2 separate regions of the Homo sapiens genome follow, and region 1 is linked to region 2. Evidence: promoter capture Hi-C in human tissues and cell types (Jung and others, 2019). All regions are on one chromosome and are shown on one strand. The core of a region is centred on a gene start or on the middle of the fragment in contact, and the rest is flanking DNA. Distances in the headings are between cores, read along the strand shown. Region 1 has its middle 29 kb from the start of LINC03122. Region 2 holds the start of SMIM15 (small integral membrane protein 15).

Region 1 (5,125 bases), core at 2,199-4,698, 450 kb before region 2:
GAAATAATCAAGGCAGAGGTTGGCAATCACAAAATCATCCTTTAAAATTCCTGAAATAACTAGGACCTAAGCACTCGCAGTGAACTAATTTTATTCCAGTTTGTTTTACTGCTATGTCATCCCTTTTCCTGTGGTACTAGTAGAGATGGTCTAGTTCACTTGGGAAAAATGACAAGGTGAATGAAGGGATCTCTCTCTCTCTCTCTCTTTCCCTCCCTCCACATACCCCTCACTCCAGTACATATTGTTTAATTTGTCTCAGCTGAAATGTGCAGCTCAATGCAATTAATAATATATCACAGCAAGACTTCTTAAAACCTTTCTGGAACTAGACACAATATTAATACACAGACAAATCATGTCAGTGACTTGGGGTTGGGGAGTAGGGGAGGAATTGACAAGGGGTAAAGATGCTTTGAATCTGTACCTAGACACCAACCCTGAAAAAGGCACCTGGGGTACCAATCCCCTAAGTCTTCTGGGTCCAGAGCCTCAGAAACCTCCCAGGAAACAGACTGGAGCCACTTCCCTGCCCCCAACTTTGGTGTCTAGCCCCGCCCACTTTCGTTCAGTCGACCAGCATTTCTAAGTGTTCTTTCACACAGGAATTTGGGGGCACCCACTGGCTCCCCATCATCTGCTGAACCTCCCTCTTCCCCCCAAGTGACAAGACTCACCTTCTCCATCGATCCTCGGGCTTGTCAGCTGCGCCGGATGCCTGAATGGCAAAGCCCGCCGAACTGGAGCCCAGACAGTGCTCATCATCCTGTCACCAGGACAAAGGGAAGAAATCCCATTATGTCACCTTCCACAAGCGAGAGACAGCGACAATTTCCCCCATAAACACTGCACTGACACTGTTATGATGTATCTCAAGCACTTCTAATCAGTATGGAAGTGGAGAGACTGCGGAAGCTCTTGAGCCTGAAAGATGCCATTCAGCAGTAACTGTGGTCTCCTGTTGTTATTGAAATGACCTGGCTGGGAGCAACCACCACTCTGCACCCATCACATCAAATATAAATATATATATATGGCATTTTCTATCTTCTCAGAGTGCATGCACACTGTTCATTTACTCTGGGTGAGCGCCAGAAGTCAGAAGTATTTTAATTCAGTTCTCATTTTTTCGCCTGTTTTTACCCATAGCCCTCTCTGTGTTTTCTGACTTCCAAATTTAAAAAGGGAAAAGCTTTTTCCTTCTCCTGAAAGTACTTTTCTTTTTCTAGTTTTGAAGAGGGAGAAGACTTTTATTTTTATAACTTCCTCTTGCCAACAGCAGCATTGGGCTTGAGTTTCTAAAGTGTGATCAACACTATTCAACTGTGAAAGTGTTTTTAGTTTAAAACCCATTTGCTGTCTCCCTGCAAATTATTCATTAATTCCAAAGGGGGACCGGGTGCATTGCAGTGAAGCAATCTGGTAAATACCACTTAAACCATAAGATCAAACTTAATATCACCACTAATGGGACAAACTGACATCACGTGCTTCCTAATATGATGTAGTGAAGAGGATAAAATAGCACTTCTGTGATATTCCTGCCAAAACATGCACAACCTGAATCAAATCGTGAGGAAATACCAGGCAAACCCAACCTGAAAAGGCTTCTACAAAACAACATCTCTACCCTTCAGAAATGTCAATGTTGCCAAAAACAAAGCCAGACTGGGGAACTGTTCTAGATTAAAGGAGACTGAAGAGGACTGCAAGATAGATCATAGTATTGCATCCATATACAATGTCAAGAACTCAATGATTGCATTGTGATTTTCTAAGAGAACACCCTTGTTCTTAGGAGATACATGCTGAGTATTTGGGAGTAAAGGTCGTGATGTCTGCAACTTATTCTCAAATGGCTTAGCAAAAATAATAAAAATGTATATATGTATGTGTATAGGGACATTTACAGAGAGAGAAAATAAATGTGGCAAAATAGTAACAGCCAGTGGATCCACCAGAAGGATCAATGGTTGTTTGTTGCACTGTTCTTACAATGTTTCTGTAGAGAGAACCATTTGATTGTCTTTCTAACAATCAAATGCAGGAGTCTCTGGCTTTCTCTGTTCTCACCCATAGACATTCCAACTGCTACTTCTGGTCAAGTAGACAGCCAAGTTTATCTCCATGAGTGAGTAAGAGACAAATGCCGGTGCCCAGGAGGATGGGCCCCTCAACCGTACAGTCACTATGTGTACCCTACCCGCAGGTCTGACAAAGAACCAAGGGCTGCAATGGTTCTGAGGTCCACCAGGCAGCCGTAGGAGCCAGTTGTGAGAAGGGCAAGTTCCACAGGCTTGGGCTCTTAGCTGAAAGAGCTCCTTTCAGAATTTTCTTTTTCTTCTTTTTCTTTTATTGCCTTCCCATAGAAGATTATAGATAGCTGAAGTTTGTGAGTTGGATTACTTCCATCCATAAAATAAAGACTAAAATCTTTCCACCCTAATCAGAAAAAAGCATCCTTTTGTCCCACTATATTCATCAATATGTCATATTTAACAGTTACAATTATTGACAGGCATATAAAACATTTTGTGACAGAGAAAATAGCTTCCTATAAAGTGTTTATTCTTTTTTATTGATAATAAGTTGACTTCTCTAGCCCTACCAAGAGAATACGGACCACTAACAAGAGATCAAATCCATTTATATGACTTCTTACAATCACTCCTTTTACTCTGGGGTTCTGGTCTAGACCCTGTATTTTAAATTTCAGCATCAGTGAGAGCTTGGAGCCCCAAAGCAGGGTCATATTACTTCTGTAATGAGGAAAGTATAATTCTAATAGCATCATTTACTACAGCCTTTCATTTTTCTTCTTCAAGACAGACTGTGCTACTATGTGCCTATGATTTAAATCTTTAAAATAGAAAAACTTCAACTGCAGAGGAATGTTAATCCAAGGATCTGTCTGCATGCAATGCCAGGTGGGTGCTGTATATAATAATAATAATGATGTACTAATAATAACTATAAATATAATTGCTACTTTTATTTAATACCTACTGTATGCCAGGTATTTTACGGAGGCCACAATTTACAGATGTGCTCTGCAAAAAGGTGTCTGGCTGCAAGGCACGTGAGGACTGAAATCCACATGCAAATTCTTTGTCTTTGTGGCGTCTGTAGCATCCCAAAGCAAGGGGTGTCTTTTTGTGATCTGTTATGATATGCGCAAGTGCATGCCTTGCTAATTTACATACCATTTCTGGTCACTAGGACATCAATGCATTATCCCAATAAGGAAAGCCACGTTTCCCTGATTCAAAATGTATATGCTTTCTCTCATGCAACATTGCCTTTCTACAGAACGAGAATCCACAGATAGAATTATTTTTTTAATTCTAAGGGAACATCAATCAGACATAGAATTGATTCTGTTAGAAGTGATGGTTTCATGTCACAAATGTTTACCTGCCCTGCACAAGAAGCAGTTCAGCAGCGTCCGTGGGGGCAGTGGAGTTGAAACCTGAGGTGGTCCTCAGGAGCGTACATGAGAAAGATGAGAATGACATGGGCAAATAATTACAGCCCCAAGGAAGATAGGAGTTCAACAGAGGGAGCAATTTTACCTCTGAGAAGTTCAAATGACATTTGAGTGAAGCCTTGAAGGATGAGAAAATTGTACATACAGAGATGGTGGTAGGGGAAGAATTCCAGCAAAGGCAAGAAACCTCCATCTGTGAGAGGAAATAGAACCCCCACTATTGCTCTTCTGGCCTCAGCCTCCTAGCCTCCTGACCTCCTTCCTCTCGGAAGTGGCTGGGTCCTTTCTCTCTGCTTTTCTCTCCCCAGTAGAGGCCCCGTGGCCTGTTGCTTTGCTCCTTCACGCTGGCCCGGTGCCACAGTAAGCTCTGATGGACCCCCAGTCCCCTTCCCTGCGCCCACACCAGGCAGGTGAGGTATGCGAGAGAAAAGTGCCACCGTGGCGCCCATGGTGCCCTTCCCAACTCCACCGTCCACCTGTTCTGGCCCTTCAGTCATGCCTCCAGTCCCTGGGAGCTCTCTTCCCATTCCTCGTCACCGCCAACTCAAAATGGAGGCGTTCCCCCAGGGCGCTCTCCTCCATCGCTATCCTTCATCCCCAGCAGGGCGGTGGCTCCACCTCCCAGCTCGCCAAGGCCTGAGGCAGGCCCTCATCAGCTCCTCCTCCCCCACCCTCACCACTGCCCCACAAGTGTGTTTCCCACATACCCTCATCTCCCGCCTCCTGTCAGAGGGGAGGCTGGGCACCACCTCCACCCATCGCTCAGGGCCTCCCCTCTCTGGCTCCCTCAGAGGTGTTACTGGGGTCATTATCTCTTCTTGCGTCCATTGTAACCTCTTCTTTCACTTTCCTTTAGTCAACCAATTATTTATTGTTTTCCAAGTGCCAGGCACTGCTGTAGGGGCTCAGGATATAGACAAAAGTGGTTGCTGGTTGAAGTTGATAATCCAGTTCACCTTCACCCTTGCCTCTTCTGCCTCAGCTCTGGATGGGCTCCAGGGTCTCCAACTGTGTTCCCAGCCACCAATGCCTGCGACTTGCTTTGCTCACTCCAGCCTCCCAGGCTGCGCCTCTGCACCGGCCTTGCTTGGACCGTCATTCCCACCCGGTCCCTCCATTGCCTCCCTGCCTCCCACCGCTGCACACTCTCCTGTGTGCTCTGGCCTGGCCTGCAGCTGTCATCATTCACCTGTTGCAAGATGAAAGAAACATTTGCCTAACTTTCTGTCTCCACAACTAGACTGGATGATCCTCACAGCCCCAAACTGTGGCTCCTTGGTTCTTTGTGTCCTTGGCACCTAACAAAGGACCTGGAACAGCCTCTGCATGCATGACAACTGAAGCATTCCATGCTTACATACAATCATTATCTTAGTAGCTTTCATATATAACTATGTGCCAGTCACTGTTCTAAGCACAGTTCTGTACACATTATCTTATCCTCTCAACAATTGTTGAAGATAAGTGCTCTGTAATCCCAGCCCTTTGGGAGGCCGAGGCGGGAGGATCAAGAGGTCAGGAGCTCGAGACCATCCTGGCTAACACGGTGAAACCCCGTCTCTACTAAAATTACAAAAAAGTAGGCGGGCGCCTGTAGTCCCAGCTACTCGGGAGGCTGAGGCAGGAGAATGGCGTGAA
Region 2 (5,003 bases), core at 153-2,652:
ACACGCATTGGCCTCTGGAACGAAGGATGTTAAAATAATACATTCTGCCCACATCTTGGATTCAAGACTTGGGGAAGTTTTAGAAAAATCAGTTATCTCAAGTAAGTATTCAGTGCACACAATCCAGTGACTGAGTCTACTTTTTCTGGCTACTAAGGTACAGGCTAGGCCTAAGCAGCATAGGCTTTGAAACTATCATCCAGGTTTTCAAATAAAAAGGAGTAAGAAAACAACTGCTGGTAATACAACATTACAAACATTAACATATGCCCAACGAACAGTATCGTAGATCGTTAGATTATCTGCCAAAAGCCTGTTCCCTGGTAAATAACAGTTATTGTTGTTTTACCTAAACTAGTTAAACATGTCGCAGCTTGCTCCTGAAAGAGAACATTCTATAGTCTTTGGAGAATCAGTGAAGAGGTCTTGCAACATTTGTCAGAGGTAGTCAAACAGTGCAAGCAATCACAAAATTTGGTCACCAACCAAACCAGATTAGCTAATCTTTCAGTTCCTGTAGATTAGAAGACAATATTAACTCACCCTTTCTGCATGTTGACTTTTGCATCCCTTTATTTGTGTATTGAAAGAACAAGCACCTCTATGGGAACTCTATGCCCTGACAGTTTAATTACTTATCAAGTTTACTCTGGGCCGGTATTGATCATTCTTTCGTGAAACGAATTAGATACTTAAATTAAAAACAAACAACAAAACCCCCCTTTTCACATAGCATGGCGGCATGTCCCTTGGTAACAAGGTTGAGTGGATCCACCAAGGCCCAGTAGCTTGCCTCCTTTTCGTAAGGATGTAACTATTGTCCAACCAGAAGAGAGAGGCATGGAGTGGGATGTGCACCAGGATGAACTCGCCGGAATCGTCAAGAGTCGTTGTGTGACCCTCACCTTGACTTCGGGCGTTTTGTGGGGACCCAACTGCTTTCTTGCCGCTGCTCTTTGGTCTGAGTTTCCCTCAGCCAAACACTTCACCCACCCATGACCCTCCAACTGTCCCGCTACAGCAGGGGATGGGGGTTGTCTTCCGATCGACCTCGGGGGGCAAAGGCAAAAGTCCCTAGCTGCTTCGGAACCGCTCCTCGAGTCCTGAAGCCGCTCCACGCCTCCTCGCCCACCACTTGGTCCCCGCAGGACGTGGCAGTCTCGGGCTCCAGCCTGGAAAGGAGCCCGCCCGGGTGCCGTCACCCGCCCCGCGCGGCCTCACCTGCCGCTCCCCGGAAATCTCAGCGCTGCCCTGCCCCCGCCCCCACCCTCCCGCGTCCTCCAACTCGAGGTCCCAAGACCCACACAGCAATGGCGCAGCCGGAAACTGGGCCCTAGACTTACTCACGCCCGGCTGGCGGCTCGGGTCGCCTGTGGGCGGGACGCAAAGGCCGCGACTTCCGCCTTCCTGCTTCCGGTCTGGCGGTGAGTGGGGAGTGGGATCCGATCCCGTGGGGCTATGTAGGGGAAGTTGGTGGCTGCAGCTGCCGTGGTTTTCTCCTGGTGTCCAGCAGAAACGGCGGCGGCGCAAGGTGTGGCTGGGCCAACCCAGGATCTCCCAGGACCCTCCGCTCTGCGCGACAAGGGGCCCGCGCTTGCCAAGGCCGACGGGCAGGAGTGAACGTGGCCTCCGTGGGTCTGCAGCCCCGATAGGGTAAGGAGGGAAGAGTGAGCAAGGGAGAAACGTAAGGAATAAGGGAAAGACAAAGGAGGAAGTGCGGACGGCCGTCAAGTGCTACCCGTTGCAGCCGCAGGGGCCACGCGGGTCTGGTTGGGAGATCGAGCCTGGTCGATCCGTTTTGGGCGGAAGAGTAGGATTTATTCCTGAAAGTGTGGAGGCGCGAGCGTTTGGGTCCGAAGTTGAGTTGCAGGGAGATGTGTGGCCTGTGGACCATGGCTCTTTTACTGCAAAGTTCTTTTGCTTATTTCTGAAACTTACATTGTTTATTCGCTACTGGGCTGGAGAAGGTGAAGGCAGATCGATCTCAGTAGTACCTAATTCTAACTGTATGGGTGAGGTCGTATGAAGTCCAGGAGCTAAGATATTTAACGTATTAGGCACTTTCATGTGTGTTCAGTTGAAAATCGTGGGGAAGATATAATTAAAACTAGTCACAGTTTTCTTGGGGTAATGGGACTGTGGGTGAATTACTATAATTTGTTTGGTTATGTCTTCTAATTTTTTAAGTAAAGGACACAAATTGTATGATGGACCCAAAAAAACCTTTATAAAGAGTAAGATGAGCTGTTTGATTTTGTAGTGGTGTACCTAATCCAGTAAATAAATGAGTGGCAACATTTTTAGTATAAAAATTGAAAATCTAGGAACGGATACGCTGTGTAAGTCAGTCAGTGAGCCAACTTGTCTCCCGTATGTCAATGAACTAAAAAAATTTTATTATTGAAATAAGTAACTTAGTAAAATACTTGATTTCCAGTAATTAGGATTTTCTTACAGGGCATTTGCAATTGTAAATTCAAATGAGGAAGAAACGTATTAAGTTACTATACCGGATAGGCAATTTTAGATGTCATATAGGTTGCATATATACAATATAGAAATTTTCCATTTAAAATTTTATTACAATTATCCTGAAATTGTGACTTAAATTTTGTTTTATTTTTTGTATTCTTTCCAACTAGCCAATTGTACAGAATTTAAACCGTCTCTCAGATGTGTACAGTAGAACTCAAGAAGACAGACTACCAAGGGTCATCTGAAGTCGTGATTGGGTCACTAATAACACCAGGACAAAGTTAAGGGATCACTACTCAAGCATAAGGTAGATGATTTTTTTAAAAAAATTCCAGTTGAAATTGTAAGTGGATGTATATACACTCATTCCCTACCCAGGTATTCTAATTCTCCACTTTGAATAGCGGTTGACACAAACATGAAAGGGAGAAAAGCCTCTGGGGCAAAATAGAAAACGTCACTCAAGTCACATAATCCTCATTTGCCAGTTGCCTTTTCCTTACACTCAAAAAGGAACAAAACACATGGCATCTGTTAAGGCTACTTTCTCATTTATTAAATTAGGCTTATTCCAACAGAGGTCCTCAAAGCTGAAAGGGCATAAAATAGCACAGTACTTTTTGCTTCTTTGGCATATTAATGCGATGTCATGACTCCCTTACCCTCTCCTTCCCATTCGGGGAAATAGTCATCTCTCCTTCTCTGCGAGCATTTCACATGCTCTGTTGCTTGTCCTTTTCAAACACCAAATTTGCTGATTTGTATTTTTGTTAATTAGTAATACTAAGGATATGTCAAAAAATGACAAACTGTATTCAGCTGTTTCCTGGAATGACCACAGAAAACTCAAGATTTTTATAAAAGCCTCCTCCTAAATAAAGTTTGTCTTGAATATAGGAGGCATGTGAGAATGCATAGTCCTTATGACAGAGTCACATGGCTTTTTTAAATCTTCTATAACTTTACCTCTTTGAAGTGTCACTATTCTGGCTGTACTAGATGAATTACTTTTTCCTAACCAGAGATACTAGTCCTTATTACAATAGTACTAAGTTGTACTTTTTAAAAAAGCAAACTGAGTGATAATGGAATCCTGAGTTAACTGGTTGTGTGAGGAAACTTTTTCAAAATTTGATTAACCACATAGTCTTTTCTCCTGTTTTTTTCCTCTGTGTTCTCCACCCGCCTCCCCCAGCCCCAGTTTTCATAAGACTGCTGTGAAGATGTTTGATATAAAGGCTTGGGCTGAGTATGTTGTGGAATGGGCTGCAAAGGACCCCTATGGCTTCCTTACAACCGTTATTTTGGCCCTTACTCCACTGTTCCTAGCAAGTGCTGTACTGTCTTGGAAATTGGCCAAGATGATTGAGGCCAGGGAGAAGGAGCAAAAGAAGAAGCAAAAACGCCAAGAAAACATTGCAAAAGCTAAACGACTAAAAAAGGATTGAAGGACTGAACAGGCTTTGCAACCAGAGGAAAATCATTTGGAAAATTACACAGCTTTGGAAGAATCCACTAAAGTTTCTTCTTTGGATTTCTTGACAGTATGATTTAGTAAATGAAATTTGACCAAATGGAAGAATCATGTTAGTTCTGACCTCAATACTATAGTAACTTTTAGGCGTGGGTGTAGAAGTTTATAGGTTTCTATTGACAGTTATTGTAAATTAGCATTTACTGTGGTACAAATTCTTTATAACTGACTTAGTCATTTGCCGCTTAGCAGTTTATATACTGAAATGAAAACATCTTGTGGGGAAAAGTGACTTTAGATTATGAACTCAATTCAAATGAACTCTATTTAAAATGGGGTCCTATTTTGGACAAAGGAAATTAAGAATGTAAAAGTCAGAACAGTCTTGAGGTAAAAAGTGTGCTTTGGCTTAAAAGGGATACAGTATATTAATTACATCTTTTATTATTATTGTTTATTTCTTAGAATCATTTCTGGCTTTCTCAAAACAAAATAATATTAATGAGTACTTCTATTTGCTGCATTTTTCTTATTACAGCCTTTGAGACAGCTGGTAATTATAAGTCATTTTCCATTTTTTAAAACATAATTTTATAAAGAATTCTCTTATCTCGACTATGTAGAATACCACCTACTGGACAGAACAATTTTTGTACTCACAAACACTGCCATTTTCTTAGAGATGGCTTGAGAGGAGTAACACTATGGTTTAAAGCTTGCAGTAAAAATGCCAAACACTGTAGTACCTTGGAACCCAGTTTATTCTTGTGCTAAGCAGAACTGTAAAATAGTTAAAATGTCTTATCAAGTAATTCGCCGATTACAAAGACACCATTTGTTTTTTATTTCATTCTTTGTTTTAACTCATGTGGTAGTGATATTTAATACTTTCTGATCAAACAGGTTCAAAGTAAAACGTTAAATTTCACATTTCTTTTAAAGAACTCTTAAAGTGTAACAGTTACGCCATACTTCATAAGTGGTAAAGAAAGGTATAAAATTTGGAAACATTTTGTTGGGCATAGTAGTGATTGGGTGAAAAGGATAAATTATA

What was found. Contacts are between HindIII fragments. The study calls those that stand out against the background at their distance.
Region 1: a contact is called between a fragment that was not itself captured here and the fragment with the promoter of SMIM15 in region 2, in 1 of the 25 tissues and cell types used here (dorsolateral prefrontal cortex).

What each region holds. Positions count from the first base shown.
Region 1 is chr5:61,606,268-61,611,392 of GRCh38, reverse strand. No RefSeq gene overlaps it. Among named protein-coding and RNA genes, the nearest start is that of LINC03122, 29 kb to the left of the region's middle. The HindIII fragment of the contact is 5,717 bases long and covers 590-5,125 here.
Region 2 is chr5:61,158,867-61,163,869 of GRCh38, reverse strand. It overlaps SMIM15 (small integral membrane protein 15), which reads left to right and starts at 1,402. Exons shown (of 3, transcript NM_001048249.4): 1 at 1,402-1,653; 2 at 2,643-2,782; 3 at 3,671-5,003. The coding sequence starts at 3,699. The coding sequence ends at 3,923. SMIM15-AS1 (SMIM15 antisense RNA 1) reads right to left here and starts at 1,554. Exons shown (of 4, transcript NR_109908.1): 1 at 1,344-1,554. RefSeq lists enhancers at 714-773, 814-913, 1,444-1,703, 1,774-1,853, 1,339-2,235 and a silencer at 1,154-1,263. The HindIII fragment of the contact is 13,088 bases long and covers 1-5,003 here.